Linked DNA regions of Homo sapiens: region 1 is linked to region 2. The links are contacts of gene promoters, found by promoter capture Hi-C in human tissues and cell types (Jung and others, 2019). All regions are on one chromosome and are shown on one strand. Each heading gives the region's core, a stretch centred on a gene start or on the middle of the fragment in contact. The rest is flanking DNA. Distances are from core to core; before and after follow the strand shown.

Region 1 (4,782 bases), core at 1,614-4,113, 1.3 Mb after region 2:
AACAGACTTCGGTCAGAGCACAGTTACCAATAGGCTGTGGAGGGTCGAATTCAGCACGACACACACAGCACTGGCTCCAGGGATCCAGGGAGTGGGAATGCTGTGCTTAGCAGTCTTCGAAGGCAGGCTGGGGTTGAATATTGTGCCTGTCAGATAAACCTCATCCATTAGCCGCTCTAGTAGGTGCGGCTTTTCAGCTGCATCACATTGTGGAGCATCCCATGGACAATGGAAGGCTTTTTTTTTGTTTTTTTGCTCTTTTGTTTTGAGACAGGGTCTCTGTTAACCAGGCTGGAGTGCAGTGGTGCAATCACAGCTCACTGCAGCCTTGACCTCCTGGGCTCAAGTGATCCTCCTGTTTCCTCCTGGGACTACAAGCACACAACACCATGCCTGGCTAATTTTAAATTTTTCATAGAGATGGGGTCTCGCTATGTTGCCCAAGTTGGCCTCCAATTCCTGGGCTCAAGAGGTCCTCCCACCTCAGCCTCCCAAAGTTGCTGGGATTACAGGCATGAGCCACCATACCCACCCAACAATGAACATCTCCACTGAACACCGACGTCTAGTTCCTTCAGCACGTGGTCTTGGAGCAGTTGCCTGCTGGAGACACATTTTAGCTGGAGTGCGATGATGCTGGACAACAGAGTGTACTTGCCAGAGCCTAGGGCCCCCAGGCTCACTGTGATCAGCAGCTGCTTAGAGACATCTGTGCTGGAGAGAAAATCAGGCTGCCTCCAGGCAGACCGGGAGGAGAGTTTTGGCCTGCCTGGCCTGCTCACCCAGCTCTTTCTCATCTTCACTTGCTAATTTGCATGCCTTTTTTGGAGGGGGGATGGGCAGAGTTGGTAAGTCTTTTAACTCACTTGCACACTTACTTGTCATCTATAATCATGCTCCTCCACTTTTTAACATCTTTTAACAGGGGTATAATTTTCTTAGAATGAAATCCTTAGATTTTAAGTGGAGTTGGTTGAGTCTTGACAGAAGCATACACTTCTGTAACCCACACCGTTCTCAAGATAAAAACACCTCCACTGCCCTGGGAAGTCACTCCCTGCCCTTCTCTGTTCATCTCCCACACCCCCATCCCAGTACAATAAGCCACAGGAAGAGTTTGGTGTCCTGAATTTTTTCTGTTTTTTTTTGGTTAGTTTATTTTTATTTTTATTTCTTTTGAGACGGAGTCTCACTCTGTCCAGCAGGCTGGAGTGCACTGGCATGATCTCAGTTCACTGGAACCTCCATCTCCCAGGTTCAAGCAATTAATTCTTGTGCCTCAGCCTCCCGAGTAGCTGGGAGTACAGGCATGCACCATCACGCCTGGCCAGTTTTTGTATTTTAGTAGAGACAAGCTTTCACCTTGTTGCCCAGGCTGGTCTCGAACTCCTGACCTCCAACAATCCAGCCACCTTAGCCTCCCAAAGTGCTGAGATTACAGGCATGAGCTATTGTACCTGGCCACATTATGATTTTTTTTTTTTTTTTTGAGACAGAGTTCTGCTCAGTTGCCCAGGCTGGAGTGCAGTGGCATGATCTCAGCTCACTGCAACCTCCGCCTCCCAGGTTCAAGCAATTCTCCTGTCTCAGCCTCCCCGAGTATCTGGGATTACAGGTGCCTGCCCCCATGCCTAGCTAATTTTTTTTTTTTTTGTATTTTTAGTAGTGACAGGGTTTCACCACCTTGGCCAGGCTAGTGTCAAACTCCTGACCTCAAGTGATCTGCCCGCCTCGGCCTCCCAAATTGCTGGGATTACAGGCATGAGCCACTGTGCCCAGCCCGCATTATGATTTTTAATCTTTGTTTTATATTGTAAGCAATTGTTCATGGTAATACACAGAAGGAAGCCATATTGACTGACTGTCAAGTACTTTGTGAATATTATCTCATTTATTTCTCACAACAACTTTCTCAGGTATCATTATCCCAGTTTTACAGATGAGGCAGCTGAGACCCAGAAAGGTGGAGCTGCTTAGCTAGGCAGCATGGGCCTTATATGGTGGGGCTATTATTAGGAACCAAGCCTGTGCAATTCCCCAGTTCCTGCCCCCACCCTGTCCACACTGCCTCAATAAAAACCCTTATGAGTGACAGTCTTTGAAATACCAGGGTCCTGTGCAGGTGGGACACAGGCAAGACTTGATCTAGAAGGTGTCAGAACCCTGGGTCTGTACGTCCTTGGGAAGGGCCTTGAGTTGACCGTAATGTGCTGGAGTCTGCGCACCTCAGCTCCTGAGCGCTGACTGCTTAATTTTCAGGTTGATGTCAAGTTGGTAGCTTGAAATCGGCCACAGTGAAAGACTTCACACCAAGGAAATTGACACATGCTACAAACCAGGGCTGCCTTTGTACCCCAGAGAGCTGGTTGTTAAACACGTACCAGCACGCCACTGGGGATACGCACCATGCTGACTATGGTTTTCTGAGTGGAATCATCCACAATCTGATAAGCCTTCCTACATGGTTGAGTGAAATGGCACAGGAGCCTAGGGTCTGATCTGAGTTTGGGAGCCCACCGGGCATGCAACTGTGAGCATGGTGCTCCTACTCTGGAGTTTCAGGTTGGTTTTCTGCAATGAAAAGAAGAACAGCCAAGGCACATGGAGTGAGGGTCCTAATAGCGTGTCTGGCCCCAGCTTTCTGCTTCTCCCAGGCTATAGGGTGGAGTTAGAGAAGGGCAGGACCAGGCAGGTTTTAATAGTCTCTTAGCCATTAATAATGAAGAAAGCTGCCTGGAGAGACAGATCTTAATTTTGGTTTGGCAAGAGAAGCTGCTATTTAAAAGTTACTGGTTGTTTTTCAGCCTGGAAGGACACGGAAAGTCACTTGGAGGCTGAGCTGTCCAGGGCTGCTTTGCTCCCAATCTCTCTCTCTCTCTCTGTGTGTGTGTGTGTGTGTGTGTGTGTGTGTGTGTGTGTGTGTGTGTGAAAGTATCCTTTGCACACTGACAGAAGCTGCCTCTCTAAACTGGTGTCTATGAAGACAGGAGCAAGGAAAAAAATTTGCCTTCTTTTTTTTTTATCAGACAGGATCTCACTCTGTTGCCCAGGCTGGAGTACAGTGGTGTGATCTCTGATCACTGCAAACTCCACTTCCGGGGCTCAAGTGATCCTCCCATGTCAGCCTCCCCAGTAGCTGAAACTACAGGCATGTGCCACCATACCCAGCTAATTTTTTTTTTTTTTGAGACTGAGTCATGCTCTGTCACCCAAGCTAGAGTGCAGTGGCGTGATCTTGGCTCACTTCAACCTCCGCTTCCCAGGTTCAAGTAATTCTCCTGCCTCAGTCTCCCAAGTAGTGGAGACTATTTGCATGCACCACCACACCCAGCTAAATGTTTTTGTATTTTTAGTAGAGATGGGGTTTCACCATGTTGGCCAGGCTGGTCTCGAACTCTTGACTTCAGGTGATCTGCCCAACTCAGTCTCCCAAAATGCTGGGATTACAGGTGTGAGGCACTGCGCCTGGCCCTCTGGCTAATTTTTATATTTTTTGTAGAGACAGGATCTCACCATGCTGGCTAAGCTGGTCTTTTTTTTTTTTTTTTTTTTTTTTGAGATGGAGTCTCGCTCTGTCTATCGCCCAGGCTGGAGTGCAGTGGTGCAATCTAGGCTCACTGCAACCTCCGCCTCCCGGGTTCAAGTGATTCTACTGCCTCGGCCTCCCGATTAGCTGGGATTACAGGTGCCCGCCACCATGCCCGGTTAATTTTTGTATTTTTAGTAGAGACAGGGGTTTCGCCGTGTTGGCCAGTCTGGTCTGGAACTCCTGAACTCAGGTGATCTGCCCGCCCTGGCCTCCCAAAGTGCTCGGATTACAGGTGTGAGCCACCTTGCCCAGCCCAAGCTGGCCTTAAACTACTGGATTTAAGCAATCTGTCCGCCTCAGTCTCCCAAAGTGCTGGGATTACAGGCATGAGCCACTGAACCCACCCAAAATTTGCATTCTAGGAATAATCAGCTGGAGATGCTAACCCCTTCCCTTTGAAGGTCTGTGTGGTTCGACTATCTGTGAAGCCCTACAATGCCTTTTCTCTTTCTATTCTCTCTGGTATTCCTAGTAGATCTTATCCCTCCTTCTGAATGTATTTATCCCTTATCTTTCCTTTCAGATTCGAAATTAATTTGAAAAAAAATAGAAAATATAGGTAAACAAAATTAAGGCGGGCAAAGCAGGCATTATGAGAGATGACCACTCCAAATTCACAAGCACATATACCACCATGAACTCCTTGCCCATATCCATTCAGGCTGCCTTTCAGTTATATACAAATATGGATGTAGAAGAGGACTTACTGAAGATGTGCTGTATGTAGCCTGTTATTTTCCCTTGACAATGTATATCTTAGACACATTCAGGTTATAAATATACATGGGGAGAGATCATCATGAATAAATAAATATAAAATATATCAAGGGATGATAACTGCCATAAAAGATAGTAAAGCAGGCTTAGGGGTAGGAAGTGATCAGAAAGACAATCTTAGATACATTTGCTCTGATCAGGTGACATTTGAGCAGTGATTTGAATCATGTGAATCACTGGAAGAATATTCTTGGCAGAAGTGAAGGGCTGGAGGTGAGTATGTGATGATGTGCTTTGTGGATTAGGGGTTAAGCACAGAAGGGACAGTTTTCGAAGGTCACTGTGGCTGCTGAGTGGAGAATAGACTATAGGTGGGCAATGGTGAAAATGGTTAAGAGCCAAATTAAATAATTGGGAGAGAGATGAGGGCGGCTTGCCCTAGGGTGTTGACTGTGGAGGTACCAGATATACATGTA
Region 2 (5,130 bases), core at 268-2,767:
TGGTATATATTGTGTAAATATTTATTTATATCACCCCCATTTGCCTGAAGTGCTCTGCTGCCCCGGGAAGTGCTGAGGATCACCACTTATCCCAGAAGAGCAGCTCTTAGGGCAGACTGCTCTCAGAAGCACATTTATCCGCACTCTGGCAGGGAACCTCCCAACCATCCCACGGTTCCAACTCAATTCAACGGTTACCGGCTACATACAATGCCTGACACAAGGAAGATGCCAGGAATAGAAAAATGAACCAAGTATAGTGCCTGTCCTCCAGGAGACAGCAGATGCCAACACAACTACCTGCAATACAAACTCTCATATACCCTTGAGGGAGTCCTAGCCAGATCACACAACTGTCTCTGTTCAGAGGCCAAAAGCAGCCTTGAATTCCACCTCCGACCCTTTCTGACAAGACTCCTCCAGTCCCACCAACCTGAGAATAACAAAAACCTGCTCCTCAATTTTAGTAAATATTAAGCACTATTCCTTATAAAACACTGTACAAAGTACAAGCATATTCATTTTACTTTTTAAATTAAAATTTTTAAAAGGCACGGTCTTGCTCGGTTGCCCAGGTTGGAGTGCACGATCCTACCTCAATGCAGCCTGGAACTCCTGGGCTCAAGAGATCCTCCCAACCTTAGCTTCCCGAGTAGCAGGGACTACAGGTGCGCGCCACCATGCCTGGCTTTTACAAGCACATTAGTTTTCACCTCACAATAATCCAGTACGACAGATACTCTAACTACATCCTCTTTTTCAGAGGAGGAACTGAGATTCAAAGATGCAGATAACATCACCAAGTTAGTAATAGAACAGAGATCCGACTGACTCCCGGGTTGACATCCTTAACCACTATGCTAACCGGCCTCCTCAAACCCTCCAGGACACGATGCGACAGGTTGGGGAAGTCACTCCTTTCTTTTAGGCATGGATCGGAGGAGAAGGACACTGGAGAAGTTTCCATTTCCATACGAAGAATTTCAGGGTCAACTGCATCTAAACTGCTCGCAAGACAGACCCTCCCCCGTCCAGCATCAGACGACCTGCAGAGAGGCCACCAGAACCAGCTACAGGGCACGGCCCCCGAGGGTGGGACCCCAAGGCCTAGCCCCTCCCATGGCCTCCCGCGGACAAAGTGGCCATCGCTGCCGCTGGCACTTCTCCAGTGTGGCCGAGCCCCCCACGCCTGGGCACCATTCACCGTGGAAGTAGTCGGCGCCGCGACCCCCGGCTGGACGACGCGGAGGACACCCAATGACAGGGAAGCTGGGGCCCCACGGCCGCGCCTGCCCCTCCCCACGCTAGAAGGGCTCGCGGGGCGGAGGTCCCAGGAGTTGCCAGGGCCAAGCGGTCCGAAGGAGGATGACTGAGTGGGGGCAACCCTGCCCGCTAACCCCAATCTCCAGCCAGCCTCCCGGGTGCTAGGAATCCTCCCCAAACCAACGAAAGCGGCAGCGCCAACCCGCTTCTTCGCGCTCACCTTCCAGCGGGTTCCAGCAGCGCAGCCACGGAGCACCGCGCACCGACACGCCCCCCTTTCATTCACCTGGCGCCCTCCGATGAGAGGCGGGGCGGCTGGCCAATCGCGGGAGCGCCTGGCCTCGGGAAGGCGGGCCCTTCGGCCAGCAGGGTGGTCAATGGCGCTGGTGCCCCTCGGAGGATGCGCTCTGAAGGCGCTGGTGCTCGCAGGGTGATGGGAGTTGTGGTCTCAGCGCTGGCTTTTCGGGTAAAGATAGAGTGGACAAAACTACAAGTACCAAGATGCCAAAAGGGGCGAGGACCAGTGCTAGCGAAAGGCTGCAGCTCGGTTCGGTCTTTTGAGTCCCACTTGAGGGACCTGCCAAGTACCGGTCTCTTTGTCTGGAGAGCGAAAAGCACGTCGTGGGTATTAATGCAGTCCAGGGAATAAGAGCTTTGACTCATCAGTCCGCACATATTTCACCTACTGGCGCTTTCCGCAAAAATCTGGAAATAAGGGAAATGGTTTAATCGATTCAACAGGTTTTTATTGCATACCCGCGGTTTCTTTCACTGGGTAGTCGTTACAAAAGATAAAAGATTCAGCTCTTCCCTTGACAGGCTCTCCGGTTCATACATACTAGTGAAACGGTTAAATGGCAGTACTAGGTGCTAAGTGACCGTACAGGCGTGTTCTTGTCAGCTGTGAGCAAGACAAGGCAGCTTACCGCTCTCAGGGAGCTTAGTTCTCATGGGGGTGTATTCGTTTGCTAGGGCTGCTGTACCTAAGTATCACCAACCCGGTGGCGTCAATAACAGATCTTATTGTCTGACAATCCTGGGGGCATCTGAAAGCAAGATGTTGGCAGGGTTCTTTCCTTCTGAGCGCTGTGAGGAAACGGTCTCTTCCAGGCTTCTCTCCTGGGCTTGCATATGGCCATCTTCATGTTCACAGGGCATATTCCCTGTATATGTCTCCATGTCAAAATGTCTCCTTTTGGTTGCAGTGAGTCGAGATCGCGCCACTGCACTCCAGCCTGGGGCGACAGAGAGAGACTCCGTCTCCAAAAAAAAAGTATTTTTATAAGGATACCAGTCATATTGGATTAGGGGTTCACTCTATGCCAGTATGACTTTTTTTTTTTTTTTTTTTTTTTTTTTGAGACGGAGTCTCAGACTCTGTTGCCCAGGCTGGAGTGGTGGCGGGTGGATCACCTGAGGTCAGGAGTCCGAGACCAGCCTGGCCAACATGGTGAAACCCCATCTCTACTAAAAATACAAAAATTAGCCGGGCGTGGGCCAGTAATCCCAGCTACTTGGGAGGCTGAGGCAGGAGAATGCTTGAACCAAAGAGATTGCAGTGAGTGGAGATCTGGCCACTGCACTCCAGCCTGGGCAGCAGAGCAAGACTCTGTCTCAAAAAAAAAAAAAAAAAAAAAAAAGGCTACCCCCTTCGCTGAGAGACCCTAATGAGGAGTAGTGAGCCATGCTAAGATAAAACAGAAAACCGGTTGGTACATATCTAAGAAACAGGAGAATGCCATTGGGTTGAGGAAGTGGATGGCAGGTAGACCAGCTTAATGGACGTGCAACCCACGCAGTGGCACAGGCCCGCACACTCAGAAAGGGCTGGTGCTTCCAGGTGAGGTTTTATACTTAACAAAACAAAACAAAAAAAGAGCCAGGTGCGGTGGCTTACACCTGTAATCCCAGCACTTTGGGAGGCTGAGGCGGGCGGATCACTTGAGACCAGCCTGGCCAACATGGCAAAACCCAGTGTCTACTAAAAATACAAAAATTAGCTGGGCATGGTGACACATACCTGTAATCCCAGCTACTCGGGAGGCTGAGGCATGAGAATCACTTGAACATGGAAAGTGGAGGTTGCAGTGAGCTGAGATTGTGCCACTGCACTGTTTCAAGGAGGAGGAGGACGAGGAGGAGGAGAGAGGGAAGAGGGAAGAAGAAGAAGAGGAAGAGGAAGGAGAGGAAGGAGAAGGAGGAGGAGGAGAAGAAGAAGAAGAAGAAAGATTTAATTACTAACAAAAAGAAAATCTAAATAAATATTTTAAAAATTAAAAAAAAGGAAAGGGCTGATGCCTGGTTTAATGCTCTGCCATTGCCCTCTTAAAATTCTTAGTAGTTTTTGAACAAGGAGCTCTGCATTTTCATTTTGCATTGGGCCCCACAAATTATGTAGCCAGTCCAAGCGACAGGAAATATGAATGGATAGAGAAGCAAAGGCCAGATTATGTAGGAATTTGTAGGCCACCTTAAGGAGTTTGGATTTTTTCTTATGAATGTGAAGGGACACCTTCGAAGGATCTTAAGCAGGGAAGAGATAAGATATGATCTCTCCCCTGCTGATAGATGCTGATAACTGGGGATAGGGTAGAGGTGGTAGAGATGGAGGGGTTTGTTTAGGATATATTTTAGAGCTTGTCAAAAATGTAATTGCAGTTCACTCTAAAGATAACTTAATAATTTTAGAAGGTAAAATGTCAGCCAAACACCACTATACTATCTATCAAAGAAAAGTAGTTTACCTATTTCTTGTAAAGCTGGATACCCAGAGAGGGACAGCAGCAGTTACATCTTTCCTGTTAGTGTGGCTGTCCTTGCCACCTGGTTCCCAAAGGCCAGCTCAGGTGCTGAGGACTTTTGATCATCATAGCAGCAGAGAAAGCATCAGAAGTGAGGAGCACCAAGCTTCTCTGGGCTCAGCCTTTTGTATCTTCTTACCTGGGAAGTCATGTCACTGATGCCTTCACCTTAATTATGACTGTACCTGGAACTCACCCTAGTATTCATTCCACATCTCCTGCATCCAGGCTCCAAGTTTCAGGTCCCAAATTTTATGACTATGGCACACGCAACCTGTACTGGATGACCTAGTAACATTCCAGACTGCTAACGTAAAAGGGCTTTTTGGGGTGGCCTGCATAGGACATGCCCCTGACAACTAGGCATAGGAAATGTTAGAGGCCTTATGATCTCTAGATCTGTTGTGGTCTGCTGTGGGACTTACTCTCGCCACCAAGACCAGCACAACCTTTAGTGTTAGATGCTCTGAACTTCAGTATATTTTTCAAGGTTCAGTTAAAACCAACCTGGCTAGTTTAAGCAAAAAGCAACCTGGCTAGTTTAAACAGAAAAGAATTCATATAAGGAATTAAGTAATACAAATTATCAGGGAGGCTAGAGAATGACTCTGCAGGGATGACTCCAAACTGTCCCAACAGGGTAGCTACCCATTTTTGCTGCAATCAGGAAGGTAAGAAATCAGGACATCACCACTGTACCTGTTAAGCTCAACAACACACTGTTGTGGCTGTGATTAAGGGATTGGAAGTCACCATCACTATTGCTGCCCCTGAAACAGGCTCTCGACCCCTACATGGCTAGTGACTGGACCCTGCAACCCTGCTGCAGACACACCTCATACCTTTGCTGCCACACTTCAGCAGCAAGCAGCAGGCGGGTGGCCTCCACTTCATTTCCAAATCCTGGCCATGACATTTTAACTCTCCAGATTCTGCAGCATAGGAAGGGACACTAGAAGGAGATGGGAATGGATGCTGACTGCTAATCGACAGTACCCAGCAGCATGAATGGCACAGCAATGTGTCACTGAATCTAAAACTTAGGACCTCCAGAGCAAAAAATAGA

What was found. Contacts are between HindIII fragments. The study calls those that stand out against the background at their distance.
Region 1: a fragment that was not itself captured here is called in contact with the fragment with the promoter of ZBTB8B in region 2 in 1 of the 25 tissues and cell types used here (spleen).

The regions. Positions count from the first base shown.
Region 1 is chr1:31,118,224-31,123,005 of GRCh38, reverse strand. No RefSeq gene overlaps it. Among named protein-coding and RNA genes, the nearest start is that of PUM1, 55 kb to the right of the region's middle. RefSeq lists an enhancer at 319-820. The HindIII fragment of the contact is 4,386 bases long and covers 671-4,782 here.
Region 2 is chr1:32,461,459-32,466,588 of GRCh38, reverse strand. It overlaps ZBTB8B (zinc finger and BTB domain containing 8B), which reads right to left and starts at 1,517. Exons shown (of 4, transcript NM_001145720.2): 1 at 1,484-1,517. The HindIII fragment of the contact is 24,686 bases long and covers 1-5,130 here.